6 separate regions of the Homo sapiens genome follow, and regions 1, 2, 4, 5 and 6 are each linked to region 3. The links are contacts of gene promoters, found by promoter capture Hi-C in human tissues and cell types (Jung and others, 2019). All regions are on one chromosome and are shown on one strand. The core of a region is centred on a gene start or on the middle of the fragment in contact, and the rest is flanking DNA. Distances in the headings are between cores, read along the strand shown.

Region 1 (2,700 bases), core at 170-2,669, 200 kb before region 3:
CCACTACAGCCTCCGAGGCAGCTGAGACTACAGGTACACGCCATCACACTTGGCTAATTTTTTAAATTCTTTGTAGAGATGGGGTTTTCCTGTATTACCCATGCTAGTCTCAAACTCCTGGGCTCAAGCAATCATCTGGCCTCGGCCTCCCAAAGTGCTGGGACTAGAGGGATGAACTACTGCATCCTGCTTCAAACTTTTGAAACAGATGACTAAGCTATAAACTTATAACTTCATTTCAGTGCAGTTATTTTGAAAAACAAATTTTTTATCTGGAATGAACAGAACAGTATAATTTTTTTTTTGAGATGGAGTTTCGCTCTTGTTGCCCAGGCTGGAGTGCAATGGCGCGATCCTGGCTCACCACAACCTCTGCCTCCCAGGTTCAAGTCATTCTCCTGCCTCAGCCTCCTGAGTATCTGGGATTACAGGCATGCACCACCACGCCTGGCTAATTTTGTATTTTTAGTAGAGAAGCGGTTTCTCCAAGTTGGTCAGGCTGGTCTCAAAACTCCCAACCTCAGGTGATCCACCCACCTCGGCCTCCCAAAATGCTAGGATTACAGGTGTGAGCCACCGTGCCCAGTCTCAGAACAGTATATTTAAATTGCTATTTTAAAATATTGTTTAAAATTTTTAATTCAGATTTCCAATAAGAAGCTGTCTTGAGATTGCCAGACATTTTACAGTGAGCTGACACTGCTCTCATCCATAAAAAGGCAAAATGGAAAGGCCAGAAAGACATGAAGAGAACAGAAAGCCTTCCCTATAAAAACAGGATACGCACTTCGGGGGGCCGAGGCGGGCAGATCAGAAGGTCAAGAGATCGAGACCATACTGGCTAACACGGTGAAACTCCGTCTCTACTAAAAATACAAAAAAAAATTAGCCGGGCATGGTGGCGGGCGCCTGTAGTCCCAGCTACTCGGGAGGCTGAGGCAGGAGAATGGCGTCAACCCGGGAGGCGGAGCTTGCAGTGAGCCGAGATCGCGCCACTGCACTCCAGCCTGGGCGACAGAGGGAGACTCCATCTAAAACAAAAACAAAAACAACAAAACAAAACAAAAAAACAGGATACTCAGATTTTTTTTTTAATGGTAAAAAGTAGTAATTGGGAGGTTCTCACTTAGATAAAAATTTTATATTCTTAGAAAAGTTCCTTTCTGCATAAATAGCACTAAAGAGTTAAAGAATGCAGATTGTGATCTGACTTCATCCATAGTTGTAGCCTGATTTTCTCTATTCATCAGGAATCATTATATTAATAATATAAGCTCCTCACTGTCTATTGTTTACAGCTGTGGGAGTTACAAAGTAAATTTTCTGTGCCTTTTCCCCTCTTTTCTTTTGTTGTTACTAATGGTGTTATTTAGCAAACTGCTATTGAAGCTAAATGATAAATGTAAGACCCCCCCATTCTCATGACAATATGACTATTTTTTAAGCATAACTGGTTTGGGAAATTTATCAGATTCTTTTTTTTTTTGAGATGGAGTCTCGCTCAGTTGCCCAGGCTGGAGTGCAGTGGCGCCATCTCGGCTTACTGCAAGCTCCGCCTCCCGGGTTCACACCATTACACCATTCTGCCTCAGCCTCTGGAGTAGCTGGGACTACAGGTGCCCGTCACCGCACCCAGCTAATTTTTTGTATTTTTAGTAGAGACGGGGTTTCACCGTGTTAGCCAGGATGGTCTCCATCTCCTGACCTTGTGATCCACCCGCCTCGGCCTCCCAAAGTTATCAGATTCTTAACCCATGTTTTTAGCAGCAAAAATGGTGATTTTAAAATGCTGTTTAGAATTTTCCTTCTCAAGTATTTTGCATTGTTATAATAAAAAGACAAGTGCATGTTATCTTCAGCTGTTCATATAGCCACTTCTAGAGACTAATACAACCTGATTCTCAGAATTAAATCATGGCATATGTGTTACTACATTTGACCTGGTAATTTAATGACGGAACTATCTAGCTGAAAATAGCCAGAATAATTTACTAATGTTTCAGCTTTTAAGAGACATGGTCTCACTCTACTGCCCAGACTGGAGTGCAGTGGCCTCATCATAGCTCACTGCAGCCTCAAATTCCTCAGGTCAAGCAATCCTCCTGCCTCAGCCTCCCGAGTAGCTATACTACAGGCACATTCCATCCATGCCCAAGTAATTTTTTTATTTTTTGTAGAGACAGTCTCGCTGTATTGCTCAGGCTAGTTTTGAACGACTGGCCTTAAGTGGTTCTGTGGCCTTGGCCTCCCAAAGCGCTGGGATTATAACCATAAGCTACCAAGCCTGGCCTCAGCTTTTTTTTAAAAAAAAAAAAAAACTAGAATGCACTACTGTACAGTAGGTGCACTGACAATGAAATGAACAATAAGCTTTTCTATTTGCCCTGAGGCCATAATGCAGATGTTTTAATTTACGTTAAGACCAAAGACTCTGAATCTCAAGTAATTTGATCAGTTTACACATTTTAAAGACACTGTTACACAGTGATATCAATAATGCTGGGCCGAGTGTGGTGGCTCACGCCTCGTAATCCCAGCACTTTGGGAGGCAGATCACCTGAGGTCAGGAGTTCAAGACCAGCCTGGCCAACCTGGTGAAACCCCATCTCTCCTAAAAGTACAAAAATTAGCTGGATGCAGTGGCATGCACCCATAATCCCAGCTACTCCGGAGGCTGAGGCAGGAGAATCACTTGAACCT
Region 2 (2,700 bases), core at 183-2,682, 230 kb before region 3:
TTTGCTACAATCTCCAGTGTTTTTGAGAACACCCTTAGCCTTGGACTTTTCTAGGTGTGTTGCAAATGAAGTCAGTTCCTTTGGGAAGAGATTAGGAGTTGTCTGCTTTGTTTCCTGTCCTGGCTGGCTCCCCTACCCCAGCCCCGCCCTTCTGCCTCTCACTCAGGGCAATCTCTGAGCCAAGGTTTTGGAGCTGGGGGTGGGGACAATGGCTCATTTCTGTCTGAATAACACCTTCACTTTAGGAGCTGAGCATTTATGGGAGGTGGGGTCAGTAGCTTTAAGTATTTTTTTTTTTTTTTAGTCTTTGTTTTACAAATGTCTATTTGTTTTTTTCTCATTTCTTTTTTTTTTTTTTTATCTCACTCATAGATGGGAATTGAACAATGAGAACACATGGACACAGGAAGGGGAACATCACACTCTGGGGACTGTTGTGGGGTGGGGGGAGGGGGGAGGGACAGCATTAGGAGATATACCTAATGCTAAATGACAAGTTAATGGGTGCAGCACACCAGCATGGCACATGTATACATATGTAACTAACTGGCACATTGTGCACATGTACCCTAAAACTTAAAGTATAATAATATTAAAAAAAAAAGCTGTAAGTATTTTTGACTTGCCTCTGCTGGCGTAGAACTTGCCTCTGCTGCCTTATGAACTGGGTAAAGGCGATCAGGGCCCTGGTGTTCTCAGTGGTGCCATGCTCAAGGTAGAGCCTCCATTCTGTGAGCAGAGGCTGGTGGAAGAAGAGAGTCACCCCCTGTCAACCACACTTACCTGGAAATTGGCCTCAGTAATAGATGAGAAGTGCTGGTTAATATTCTGTTCCTCCTGAGAAGAAAACCCAACTGGAAGCTGAGGGGAGGGGGAACCCTGTATTCTTGGCTGTACCAGTCTGAAGTGCAGTTTCTGCCTTCCTTTGCTGGGAGGGTGCTGAGAGGGAGTGGTCTTAGTTCAGTTACCACAGACGTTTGCTTTTGTTACCAAATTTTCATAGATTTTCTTGAATAGATGTTTATTCATTTATATGCCATTAAGACCATTTCCAGGTGCTTTAAATGTTTATTCTTTAATAAATTTCATCAGTTTTACTGGGAAGTGGGCCCAGAGTTCCTCATGCTGTTATGATAGAGGTCTATATCCACTATTAAGGTCTTTAATGACCATGTATATAGCATATTCATGTTGGAATTTCCCTGAGTTGTGAAGCCCAATCCAACAGATCCCTGGGTGATAAGAAATCTTTTTATATTTTCTTCACTGAGAGGTACCATGAGATGTCAGAAACTTGGTTTTTAGTTCTGGCTCTGTCCTGTAGTAGTCACCTTGCTTTGACAAAGACTTAACTTTCATTGTAGTTAAAGTTCCATGATTACAAAGAAGAGAGATAACTTGCCTCACCTACCTGTAGTTGTTTTTAAAGATTAAATGAGATAATATCTATGAAAACTCACTGAAAAGTGACTTGGCTGAGCACAGTGCCTCATGCCTATAATCTTTGCTTTGGAGGGCTGAGGCAAGAGGATTGCTTGAGCCCAGGAATTCAAGGCTGCAGTGAGCCATGATCATGCCACTGTACTCCAGCCCGGGCAACAAAGTGAGACCCTGTCTCAAAAAAAAAAAAAAGAAAAGAAAAATATATGGTAGTATTAATTAATAAAGCAAATATAGCAAGTAGCACAAGAAATTTTATTTGCGGTTTTTTTTTTTTTTTTACTTAAGGTAATTTTAGAACTCGATTTGAGATTGAAACCCCATAACTTATTTTTTAAATTTTCTCTATAGTTCCTATTTAGTATCATTTAAAAAAAAAAAAAGGTCGGGTGCGGTGGACCACGCCTGTAATCCCAGCACTTTGGGAGGCTGAGGTAGGCGGATGAATGGCAGGAGAATGGCTTGAACCCGGGAGTCGGAGATTGCAGTGAGCCAAGATCGCGCCACTGCACTCCAGCCTGGCAACAGAGTGAGACTCCATCTCAAAAAAAAAAAAAAAAAAAGATCTAGTTCTATATTCAGATTTTAGTATCATTTTAGAGTTTATAAAATTGATTTATGACTCCAATTTTTAAATATCAATTTTAAAGCTTTAAAATTATATTTTCCCTTTGGGGCCAGGCATGGTGGCTCTTGCCTGTAATCCCAGCACTTTGGGAAGCCAAGGTGGGTGGATCCCTGAGGTCAGGAGTTTGAGACCTGCCTGGCCAACATGGTGAAACCCCGTCTCTACTAAAAAAAAAATACAAAAAATTAGCCAGGCATGGGGGCGGGTGCCTGTAATCCCAGCCGCTTGGGAGGCTGAGGCAGGAGAATCGCTTGAACCTGGGAGGTGGAGGTTGCAGTGAGTCAAGATCCCGCCATTGCACTCCAGCCTGGGCAACAAGAGTGAAACGCCATCTCAAAATAAATAAATAAATTTTCTCCATAGTTCCTATTTAGTGTCATTTTCTTTTTGAAATAACAAATCTAGTCCTGCACCCAGATTTAGTATCATTTTAGAGTTTATAAAATTGATTTGCTTTATGATTCCAATTTTGAAATATCAAGTTTAAAGCTTTAAAATTATATTTTTTCTTTTGGGCCACATTACATGGCTCTTGCCTGTAATCCCAGCACTTTGGGAGGCTGAGGTGGGCAGATCACTTGAGGCCAGGAGTTTGAGACCAGCCTGGCCAACATGGTAAAACCCTGAAACTC
Region 3 (2,700 bases), core at 134-2,633:
TTTTTTTTTATTTAGATAGATCTTCCTCTGTCGCCCAGGCTGGAGTGCAGTGGCGTGATCATAGCTCACTGCAACCTGGATCTCCTGGGCTCAAGCCATCCTCCCACCTTAGCCCCCCGAGTAGCTGGGACTACTGGCGCGCGCCACCACGCACAGCTAATTTTATTTTTTGTAGAGACGGGGCCTTCCTATGTTGGCCAGGCTGGAGTTAGGCTTTCTTTCTTTTTTTTTTTTTTTGAGACGGAGTCTCGCTCTGTCGCCCAGGCTGGAGTGCAGTGGCATGATCTCGGCTCACTGCAAGCTCCGCCTCTCCGGTTCACGCCGTTCTCCTGCCTCAGCCTCCCAAGTATATGGGACTACAGGCGCCCGCCACCACGCCTGGCTAATTTTTTTTGTATTTTTTAGTAGAGACGGGGTTTCACCGTGTTAGCCAGGATGGTCTCAATCTCCTGACCTCGTGATCCGCCCGCCTTGGTCTCCCAAAGTGCTGGGATTACAGGCGTGAGCCACCGCGCCCGGCCTCCGCTTTCAAGACTAAAAATTGCCTGGGCACTGTGGCTCAAGCCTGTAATCCCAGCACTCTGGGAGGCCGAGGAAGGTGGATCACTTGGGCTCAGGAGTTCGAGAGCTGCCTGACCAACATGGCGAAACCCCGCCTCTACTAAAAATACAAAATTAGCCGGTCCTGGTGGCACACGCCTATAATCCCAGCTACTCGGGAGGATGAGGCAGGAGAATCGCTTGAACTCAGGAGGGGGAGGTTGCAGTCAGCCGAGATCGCGCCATTGCACTCCAGCCTGGGCAACAAGGGCGAAACTCTGTCTCAAAAAAAAAAAAAAAAAAAAAAAAGACTAAAAATTGTCGGGGCTGCTGGCCAAAAGAAGATCTTGCCTGGCTGTCAGAAAATAATGTTCTTTCCAGCGGCTGCTTGAACCCGCTTCCTTCAGTGCCTAAATTTAACGGCTGCAGCTGCAGCTGCAACCTGTTTCCCCCGTAATAGGAATGAAAGTGGAGGATAAAAGAGGTTAGGAAGAAGGCAAGCCAGCAGTCTGACCAGACACAGGATGCATGTAAGAGACTTGTTAATTACACGTTCTATTTAGGTCACACTGATAGGCAAATCGCTATTCTGGGCCCCCAGGAAGCCTTTTCGTCCTTGCTATAGTCAATTCATTCTCCAGATGAAAGCCTGAAAGCGCCACGACCCAAGTTTCACGTCTATCCACTCAAGAGGCCTGCTTGGCGCAGGCGCATACCTTCAAAGGCCTCCCGCCCTCACTCCACCACCCCCTTAGGGGGCGGGGCCTCAGAGCTCAGTGCTCGAACTGGCTCCAGAGCCGTGAGTTCGGCATGCAAGAGCGGAAGAAACGCGGCTGGTACCCCGGAAGCAGTCGCTGCAACTTCCGGGAGGTGCTTGTGTGCCTGGTGCGGGAGCTACGGGGCCCAGGGATTGTGTTTAAAGTAGTGCTTCTACCAACATGTCCCGTGGTTCCAGCGCCGGTTTTGACCGCCACATTACCATTTTTTCACCCGAGGGTCGGCTCTACCAAGTAGGTGAGTGAACCAGGTTCGCCTGTGGGCCACCTGAATTGCCCTGTCATGGTACGTGCCTGGAGCGAGCAGACGCGGCCCGGGTTTAGTCTGGGGCCGAAGCTGGGCTGGAGCTGGGAAGGGAGAACGGCTGAAGCTGGATTGAGCTCTGTGGTGTTTGCACCCCCGTCTGGACGCAGGGATCGGGGGCCTGAAGGCCTGTCTCTGCAGGGCGAGCGGCCACACTGCGTAGACCCAATGGAGAGTTAAGGAAGATAGGGCTGTAATGCCTGACTCCGGCTTCGTGAGGCCCCTTCAGTTATTGTATTCTGTCCTGGCCAGGCACAAGGTCTGTTTCTAAAGGGTAATTGATTCCTTAACGTCTCAACTAAAATGCCTCCTCTCCGTTTTCCTTTGTTTGCAGCATGGACTTCTGTGGTTAATTCCACACAGGCACTCGAAGCCTGCTATATACCAGACACTGCTAGTCCTAGGAGATACAAATGTGAATGTTACACCCTCTTCTATACTGAAGCTCACAGCTTAGAGTGACAGATACGTTAAACAAACGGATAAAAAAAATTAAAAGTGCCAATTTACAAATATCTACAGAGTTCAAGACATCTTTGGGAATCTGATAGAATGAGTGACTCAATTCTAGAGCTGCTCTTGAGATTGGCATCCCCTTTTTACCCACATCTGTTTGAATGCTCCTGTAATTTAAATGCCGATTCTGAGTTGTAGATGAGGTACTGTGTACTAGTTTACTGAAGAACACCTGTAGTGGAAAGAAACTATCAGTTACTCGGAATAGTAATGTATTGCGCTGAAACGGTGTCAAGGTTTAGGTTATGATTATAAGCCAGACCCTTGATCTCTTACCATAGAGAATTTAGTGTCAGGAGGGCTTGATTTACATCTGGTCCGTGATGGTTTTATTTTTGAATGAGTTTAGTGGCTCCGTGTCTTGCACAGTAATATAATCATCTGTGCTTGGAATCATAAGGAGAGAGTTGGTCTGTAAATGAGGTTCTCTTCACCTGTAAATTTTAGAAATAGAGTTAAAGATAACTTGGAATGAAACTGCTCAGTGTATTACTGCATAGTGTATATAATGTAGCAAGAAACATCTTGTTGGATAATTCAGTAGCCCTTTTAATTTATCCCCAA
Region 4 (2,700 bases), core at 112-2,611, 230 kb after region 3:
GTAAGACTCTTTCTCAATCAATCAGTCAGTCAGTCAGTCAGTCAATTGTCAAATGGGAAAAATACTTTATGTATCCACAGGGGTTATGTTAAAATATTTAACAATATTATGAAATGGTTACTATCCAATCAGAACTGATAATGGCCATAGAGCTGGAGCAGGGCCCTAGAGCCCCATTGGTATATTGGGCGTTAACTCTTTAGCTGATGGATAATGGGGAGGTGGGTAGTGAAGAGGCTACAATAACTGACCAGAGTCAAGGGGAAGAGCATTTGGAAAGGTAGTGGTTATTTGCTAATGTTATGGAAGTATTTTAATATTTTAATAACTGAAATGGTTTTTTCTGGTGGAACCAGCTATATAATAAACAAAGGACTCTGAGAAAAATAAACAGAAAATTTGAATAGGTTAAATTACAAAGAGTAAAATTACAATTTCAATAAATAGATTATAAGATGTTAAACTTCATTAATAATAAAATACAAGTTTATTTTCGCAAAACAACACTTTTATTTATTTATTTTTTTGAGATGAGTCTCACTCTGTCACCCAGGCTGGAGTGCAGTGGCGCGACCTCGGCTCACTACAACCTCCTCCTCCCGGTTTCAAGCAATTCTCCTGCTTCAGCCTCCCGAGTAGCCGGGACTACAGGCGAGCGCCACCATGCCCAGCTAATTTTTGTAGTTTTTGTAGAGACTGGTTTCACCATGTTGGCCAGGCTGGTCTTGAACTCCTGACCTCGAGTGATCTGCCTGCCTTGGCCTCCCAAAGTACTGGGATTACAGGCGTGAGCCACCGTGACCGGCTACACTTTTTACTTATCTTACTGGCAATATTTTTTCTCATGTTTGACAGAACATAGTTGAGAGAACAGGAAAAGTGGCACTCCTATGCCTGCTGACAGAAGTATAAATAGGCACAATCATTGTGAAGGATAGCTTTGTAATAATTACCAAAAACTTTTAAAATGTTGTTCTGATTTAATGGTTCTGGTAATGTTAGGCTAAATTAAGCAGATAAATCCTCCTAGTGAAAATAACTAACAGAGCTGGATTTTAAAAATATTCTTAAAGCATAAAAGAGTATGAAACACAGTAAGGAATTACTAAAGGTGAAGGAAAAATGGGAACCCATATGTGGAGACTGTTCTGCCCTGAGGAAATTTTCTGACTCATGACAATTAGAATCTTCATTCTGGTAGACTTGCAGGGCAAGGGAGACAGAAAGAAAAACCCAGGATGTGTATAAGATAGAAAATCTAATAGAAGATCCTCCCCAACAAGATACTGGGACTCCAAAGCCCTTGAGAATTTACTGCTTGTATTCAAATTGCCTGGGTCAGTGAATTTTAAGCCTTGAACTTGGGTTAAAGTAATTCTAAATTGGTAGTGCCAGAAGCAAATATAAATCCTCTTTGAAGCAAGACACCTTTATTATAGGCCTAAAATCATTTCTAGAAATAATTCTTCAAATGTAATGTTCAGCACCTAATAAAAAAATAACAGATACATAAGGAAACTAGATTAAACGGGCAAGTATCAGTAGAGACAACAGACAATAAAAACAGACTCACAAATAACTCAAATATTGAATTTATCAGACTCAGACTATAAAATAAGACTACAAAACAATTATGAAGAGTATGTTTAAAGACAAAAGACCAACTTGATGCTGTCTACAGAGAACAGAAAACCACAAAGAGTAACGCAGCAGGTTTGACTTTGAAAAAAGAATCATATAGAATTTTATTGTGATTTTAAATATATTTTTATTTTATAAATAAAAATAAATTTTATAGCTAATTTTTAAAATACAAATTTAAAATCCAGGGCCAGGTGCCGTGGCTCATGCCTGTAATCCCAGCACTTTGGGAGGCCAAGGCAGGCAGATCACGAGGTCAGGAGATCGAGATCATCCTGGTCAACATGGTGAAACCCCGTCTCTACTAAAAATACACAAATTAGCTGGGTATGGTGGTGCACACCTGTAATCCCAGTTACTCGGGAGGCTGAGGCAGGAGAATCGCTTGAACCTAGGAGGTGGAGATTGCGGTGAGCCAAGATTGCACCACTGCACTCCAGCCTGGCGACAAAGCGAGACTCCGTCTCAAACAAATAAATAAATAAATAAATAATAAAATCCAACAGATTTTAAGTGTATACTACATTAGACATACTTCAAGATTTAGTAAACCTGAAGAACATCAGAAGAAATATTCCAGAGGCAAGAAAAGAAAAGAAAAAAATATATATAAGAAGGAAAAAGACACAGAAGGTACAGTGACAATGTCTAACATAGGTTTGGCCAGGGTTCTAGAAGGAGAAAAAAAGATAAGACAAAATAGAAGCAATTATCTGAAAAGTTAACTGCTGAGGATTTTTCAAACTGACATTACTTCAAAGCACTGATTTTTTTTTTTTTTTTTTTGAGATGGAGTCTCGCTCTGTTGCCCAGGCTGGAGTGCAGTGGCGCGATCTTGGCTCACTGCAAGCTCCGCCTCCCAGGTTCACGCCATTCTCCTGCCTCAACCTCCCGAGTAGCTGGGACTAGAGGCACCTGCCACCACGCTCAGCTAATTTTTTGTATTTTTAGTAGAGACGGGGTTTCATCGTGTTAGCCAGGATGGTCTCGATCTCATGACCTCATGATCTGCCTGCCTTGGCCTCCCAAATTGCTGGGATTACAGGCGTGAGCCACCAC
Region 5 (2,700 bases), core at 61-2,560, 150 kb before region 3:
TATGGTAGATATGTGTGTGTGTGTGTCGCTTTTTCAGAAACTGCCCAACTGTTTTCCAGAGTGGTTGTACCATTTTACATTTCCACCAGCAGAGTATGAGGGCTATAGTAGCCCCACATCCTGGCTGATGCTTAGTATGGTTAAGGTTAGTCTCTTTACTGTTCTAATAGGTATGAAGTGGTATCTCATTGTGATTTTAATTTAGATTTTCCTAATGACTAATGTTGTTGAGCATCTTTTTATATGCTTAATTGCCATCCATATATCTTTGGTATAATATTTATTTGTTCAGATTTTTTGCCTATTTTAAAAATTGGATTGTTTCATTATTGAGTTGTAAGAACTGTTTCTATATTCTAGATACAAGTCCTAAGTCCAATATATTTTACAAATATTTTCTGTCAGTCTGTGGTTGACTTTCATTTCATAACATGGAGATTCTGATTTAATTGCTTTGGCTTGGTGGGGTCCAGGTATTAGGATTTTCAAAAGCTTCCAGGTGATTTTAAAGTGCAGCTAGAATCAAGGACAATTGCTTCTAATGTGAGATTTTGAGGAAACTTAAAGTATGGCAGCTTCTTTTCTGTTGAATAGTTTTGGGAGAAAAATCTCAGTTATTATATAAGGTAATTTTTTAGCTTTTCTGTTTTAAACATTTGTTTACTGTAATTAGACAACATAGCCAGCAGATGGCAATAATGTAACATATAAAAATTATTCTAGGTATGACCAAGTCCATCAGGTTAAAGGATTTGTTGAACTTTTTAAAATATTAAACTGAAAGATATCTGTCATTTCTGTGTAAGTCAGATTAGTGATAGTAGGTAGAGAAAAGAGTGGTATATGTGAATTTTAAGTGAACAAAGCAGAATTCCAAATAATTTGCATCTACTGATTTAACTACTGACACTAATTGAGTGGGCATCAGTGAAGGTCAAAAAGTGAATTTGGAGCTATGCGCATAGTGTTACTTTAATGTTAATTAGGTTTTTTTCTTATTTTCCTTCCTTCTTTTTCTTTTTTTTTTTGTTTTTGTTTGTTTGTTTTGTTTTGTTTTTTGAGACAAGTTCTTACTATTCACCCAGGCTGGAATACAGTGGCATGATCATAACTCACTGCAGCCTTGAACTCCTGGGCTGAAGTAATCCTCCTGCCTCATCCTCCTGGGTAGCTAGGATTCAGGTGTGTACCATCACATCTGGCTAATTTTTTTATTTTAATTTTTTCTGTAGAGACGGGGTCTCACTATGTTGCCTAGGCTGGTCTTGAACTCCTGGCTTCTAGTGGTCCTCCCACCTTGGCCTCCCAAAGTGCTGAGATTTCAGGTGTGAGCTACTATGCCTAGACATGGTTCTTGATAATAACATTAAATTACAGTCAGATTTTTTATATTCAACTACAAAGATAATAATTCTTTAATATTTTCATTAGAGAAAATTTCAAACATAATCAAAAAGAGACTAACATAATGGACCCCCATCCTCCATGATTATTAACTCATGACCACTTTTTTTTTGACAGGGTCTTGCTCTGTCACCTAAGCTGGAGTGCAGTGGCACAATCACGGCTCACTGCAGCTGAGACCTCCTGGGCTCAAGTGATCCTCCCACCTCAGCCTCATGAGTAGCTGGGACTACAGGCATGTGGCACAACACCTGGGCAATTTTTTTTTTTTAAGACGGAGTGTTGCTGTTGTTGCCCAGGCTGGAGTGCAATGGCACGATTTCGGCTCACTGCAACCTCTGCCTCCTGGGTTCAAACGATTCTCCTGCCTCAGCCTCCTGAGTAGCTGGGATTACAGGTGCCTGCAACCACGCCCAGCTAATTTTTGTATTTTTAGTGGAGACAGGGTTTCACCATGTTGGCCAGGCTGGTCTTGAACTCCTGACCTCAGCTGATCCATCCGCCTCGGCCTCCTAAAGTGCTGGGATTACAGGCGTGAGCCACCGCGCCCAGCCTTAATTTATTATCTTATGTAGAGATGGAGTCTCATTATGTTGCCAAGGCTGGTGTTGAACTCCTGGGCTCAAGCATTCCTCCCACCTCAGCCTCCCAAAGTGCTGGGATAATAAGTGTGAGCCACCACACCTGGAAGCTCATCCTGTAAATTATAAATTCATTGCTTTTTTTTTTTTTTTTTTCCAAGAGATGACGCCTTGCTCTTTTGCCCAAGCTGGGGTGCAATGGTGTGATCATAGCTCACTGCAGCAATGAACTCCTGGGCTGGAGCAATCCTCCCACCTCAACTTCCCAAGTAGCTAGGACTTACAGGTGCATGCCACCCTGCCCTGCTAATTTTTAAATTAAAAAAAAAAAAATTTTAGATAGGGTAGAGATGGCATTGGGCTTGGTGGCTCACACCTGTAATCCTAGCACTTTGGGAGGCCGAGGTGGGTGGATTGCCTGAGCTCAGAAGTTTGAGACTAGCCTGGACAACATGGCAAAACCCGTTCTCTAATAAAAATACAAAAAATTAGCTGGGCATAGTGGCTCATGCCTGTAGTCCTAGCTACTCGGGAGGCTGAGGCAGGAGAATTGCTTGAACCCAGGAAGCTGAGGTTGCAGTGAGCTGAGATCGCGCCACTGCATTCCAGCAGCCTAGGTGACAGAGTGAGACTCTTGTCTCAAAAAAAAAAAAATTGTAAAGATGGGATCTCACTATGTGGTCCAGGCTGGTCTTGATGCCCTGAGCTCAAGTGA
Region 6 (2,700 bases), core at 171-2,670, 140 kb after region 3:
CATTCTACCATCCTCTGCAGCTTTTCTCTAGACAGGATGTCTACTTTTCTACTGACTACCTTTTCCAGGGTAGGAGGGTAGGGCAGGGCATTGGAAAGAGGTGAGCTTTAGGTCAGTTTTAACAAAACACAATGTTATAGATACAATTGAAGCCCCTTTTGAAGCTCTTTGCAATCTCAATTCCCTGACTCCTTTGCCAATATGTATTCTTCCTATATTTTCATACTTTTGGTACATATGAATGTATCTGTAAATAATGGATATTAATACTATTAAGTCTTACATAAATGGTATCTTAAATGTATCCTTTTGCAAATTACTTTTCCATTCACCATTATGATTTGAGATTTACTCATATGGATTCATGTTGTTCCTTCACGTAACTTCATTGCTATATTCTACATTTATTCATCCATTTCCTTACTTGTGATAGACAATACTATGGTGAATATTTTCTGTATGTGTCCCCTTAGGCACATCCATGATGGTTTCTTCAGGGCAGTGATACTCAAAGTGTGATGCATGAACCAGCAGCATCAGTATGACCTGGGATTTGTTAGAAATGTAAATTTTTGGGCTTTAACCCATGCTTACTGAATCAGAAACGGGGGTGGGGTGGGGTGGGGCCTACCAAACTACTTTAATAAGTTCTCCAGTGATTCTGACGCACACTAAAGTTTGAGAATTACTGTTCTAGCTATAATTTTATAGAATTGCTGGGTTATAGGATATGTGTATTTACAAATTTATGAGATTTAGACAAATTGTCTTTAAAGTGATTGTGCTAATTTACACTCTATTTTTAAAAAAGCTTAAGTAATGTTTTTGTTACTTTAATACATTGAATATTAATTTATTAAGCTGAAGTAACATCTCATCTGTCCATACAGGCAGCCCTTGAAGACATTTTGTTTTACTTTATTTTATTTTTTTTGAGATGAAGTCTCACTCTGTTGCCCAAGCTGGGGTGCCGTGGTACAATCTCAGCTCAGTGCAGCCTCCGCCTCCCGGGTTCACGCCATTCTCCTGCCTCAGCCTTCCAAGTAGCTGGGACTACAGGCGCCCGCCACTACGCCCGGCTAATTTTTTTGTATTTTAGTAGAGACGGGATTTCACTGTGTTAGCCAGGTTGGTCTCGATCTCCTGACCTTGTGATCCGCCCGCCTCGGCCTCCCAAAGTGCTGGGATTACAGGCGTGAGCCACTGCGCCCGGCCAATTTACACTCTTAAATATAGTTTCTGCCCATAGATTTTAACTTTTTAAAAAAGTTGTGGGGAAATGGCGGCTTCAGGAGAGAGCGGGACTTTGGGCGGCGGAGGCGGCACAGAGGAAGCATTTATGACCTCCTACAGTGAGGAATAAAGATGGCATACAGCATACCTCATATTCATTCCAACCCTGACAGTGACACCAAGAATGTTTTCCTGGGACTGCCTGGTGCTTGTTCTCCCGGGCCTTGTCTTCAGGGGAAACAAATAGAGAAGGGAGACTTGGTTCTAACATCCAAAAACCACATTGAAAGACTGACCCGTCCTGGTTCCTCTTACTTCAATTTGAACCCATTTGAGTTTCTTCAGATAGATCCTGAAGTTACAGATGAAGAAATAAAAAAGAGGTTTCGGCAGTTATCCATCTTGGTGCATCCTGACAAAAATGAAGATGATGCTGACAGAGCACAAAAGGCTTTTGAAACTGTGGACAAAGCTTACAAGTTGCTACTGATCAGGAGCAAAAGAAGAGGGTCCTGGATGTAATTTAGGCAGGAAAAGAATACGTGGAACACACTGTGAAAGAGAGAAAAAAAAAAAACAATCAAAGAAGGAAGGAAAACCTACGATTGTAGAGGAGGATGATCCTGAGCTGTTCAAACAAGCTGTATATAAACAGAAAATGAAACTCTTTGCTCAGCTGGAAATTAAAAGGAAAGAGAGAGAAGCCAAAGAGATGCATGAAAGGAAACGGCAAAGGGAAGAAGAGATTGAAGCTCAAGAAAAAGCCAAACGAGAAAGAGAGTGGCAGAAAAACTTTGAGGAAGGTCGAGATGGTCGTGTGGACAGCTGGCGAAACTTCCAAGTCAATACAAAGGGGAAGAAAGAGAAGAAAAATCGGACCTTCCTGAGACCACCGAAAGTAAAAATGGAGCAGCATGAGTGACCACCCGGGGTCACAGGCACAGAACCTTCCCCCTGCTATCTCCCTTCCTGCTTCGAAGGACTCATTCTTTCCTCCCACTTCCACCTCAACATAGAGTAGTATTTGCTTTTTAGTCTGTTTCGTTTTGAATACAATTTAATATCGATCAGAGTAATTCTTTTGTACAATGAAATGAGGGGACTGGTTTAAAAAAAGACCTTCCTCCTCCCTGCCCCTAGAACAACCAGGATTGGAAGGTGGCACCATTGGTGCTGCCTTCTCTTCCCACAGCCTGTAACTCAGTGTTTTGTACTTCACTGAATTGTGATGGTTAGAAACTTCGTCCTAGTTTGTGGAAATCATCCAATTAAACATATTACTTAAAATGGTGTTGCTGTGACGTCAGAGACAGGCCTGGAAGGGGCACTTTGGAAGCCCCTTGGCTTCAGTTGCTCGCTTCTGGGTGTGCTCCCTTAGAAGGCCCAGATAAGACAGGGAACACCTGTGGGCACACAGAACAGGCACCTGATGCCCTGATGCCCTGTGGTGTTTGGCATGTGCCCCCT

The links. Contacts are between HindIII fragments. The study calls those that stand out against the background at their distance.
Region 1: a fragment that was not itself captured here is called in contact with the fragment with the promoter of PSMA6 in region 3 in 1 of the 25 tissues and cell types used here (liver).
Region 2: a contact is called between a fragment that was not itself captured here and the fragment with the promoter of PSMA6 in region 3, in 1 of the 25 tissues and cell types used here (hippocampus).
Region 4: a fragment that was not itself captured here is called in contact with the fragment with the promoter of PSMA6 in region 3 in 1 of the 25 tissues and cell types used here (hippocampus).
Region 5: a contact is called between a fragment that was not itself captured here and the fragment with the promoter of PSMA6 in region 3, in 1 of the 25 tissues and cell types used here (hippocampus).
Region 6: a contact is called between a fragment that was not itself captured here and the fragment with the promoter of PSMA6 in region 3, in 2 of the 25 tissues and cell types used here (dorsolateral prefrontal cortex and hippocampus).

What each region holds. Positions count from the first base shown.
Region 1 is chr14:35,092,179-35,094,878 of GRCh38, forward strand. The region is part of intron 10 of PPP2R3C (protein phosphatase 2 regulatory subunit B''gamma); the gene reads right to left. The region is part of intron 1 of LOC101927178 (a long non-coding RNA gene); the gene reads left to right. Among named protein-coding and RNA genes, the nearest start is that of PRORP-PSMA6, 28 kb to the right of the region's middle. The HindIII fragment of the contact is 3,789 bases long and covers 1-2,700 here.
Region 2 is chr14:35,061,176-35,063,875 of GRCh38, forward strand. All of the region lies in intron 2 of FAM177A1 (family with sequence similarity 177 member A1), which reads left to right. Among named protein-coding and RNA genes, the nearest start is that of FAM177A1, 16 kb to the left of the region's middle. The HindIII fragment of the contact is 3,938 bases long and covers 1-2,700 here.
Region 3 is chr14:35,290,999-35,293,698 of GRCh38, forward strand. It overlaps PSMA6 (proteasome 20S subunit alpha 6), which reads left to right and starts at 1,384. Exons shown (of 7, transcript NM_002791.3): 1 at 1,384-1,554. The coding sequence starts at 1,479. All of the region lies in intron 9 of PRORP-PSMA6 (PRORP-PSMA6 readthrough), which reads left to right. RefSeq lists enhancers at 1,085-1,671, 1,388-1,467, 1,588-1,707, 1,788-1,847. The HindIII fragment of the contact is 27,585 bases long and covers 1-2,700 here.
Region 4 is chr14:35,522,778-35,525,477 of GRCh38, forward strand. No RefSeq gene overlaps it. Among named protein-coding and RNA genes, the nearest start is that of INSM2, 10 kb to the right of the region's middle. The HindIII fragment of the contact is 5,921 bases long and covers 1-2,700 here.
Region 5 is chr14:35,140,221-35,142,920 of GRCh38, forward strand. All of the region lies in intron 4 of PRORP (protein only RNase P catalytic subunit), which reads left to right. All of the region lies in intron 4 of PRORP-PSMA6 (PRORP-PSMA6 readthrough), which reads left to right. Among named protein-coding and RNA genes, the nearest start is that of PRORP, 19 kb to the left of the region's middle. The HindIII fragment of the contact is 3,860 bases long and covers 1-2,700 here.
Region 6 is chr14:35,428,477-35,431,176 of GRCh38, forward strand. It overlaps the pseudogene DNAJC8P1. Among named protein-coding and RNA genes, the nearest start is that of NFKBIA, 25 kb to the left of the region's middle. The HindIII fragment of the contact is 3,253 bases long and covers 1-2,700 here.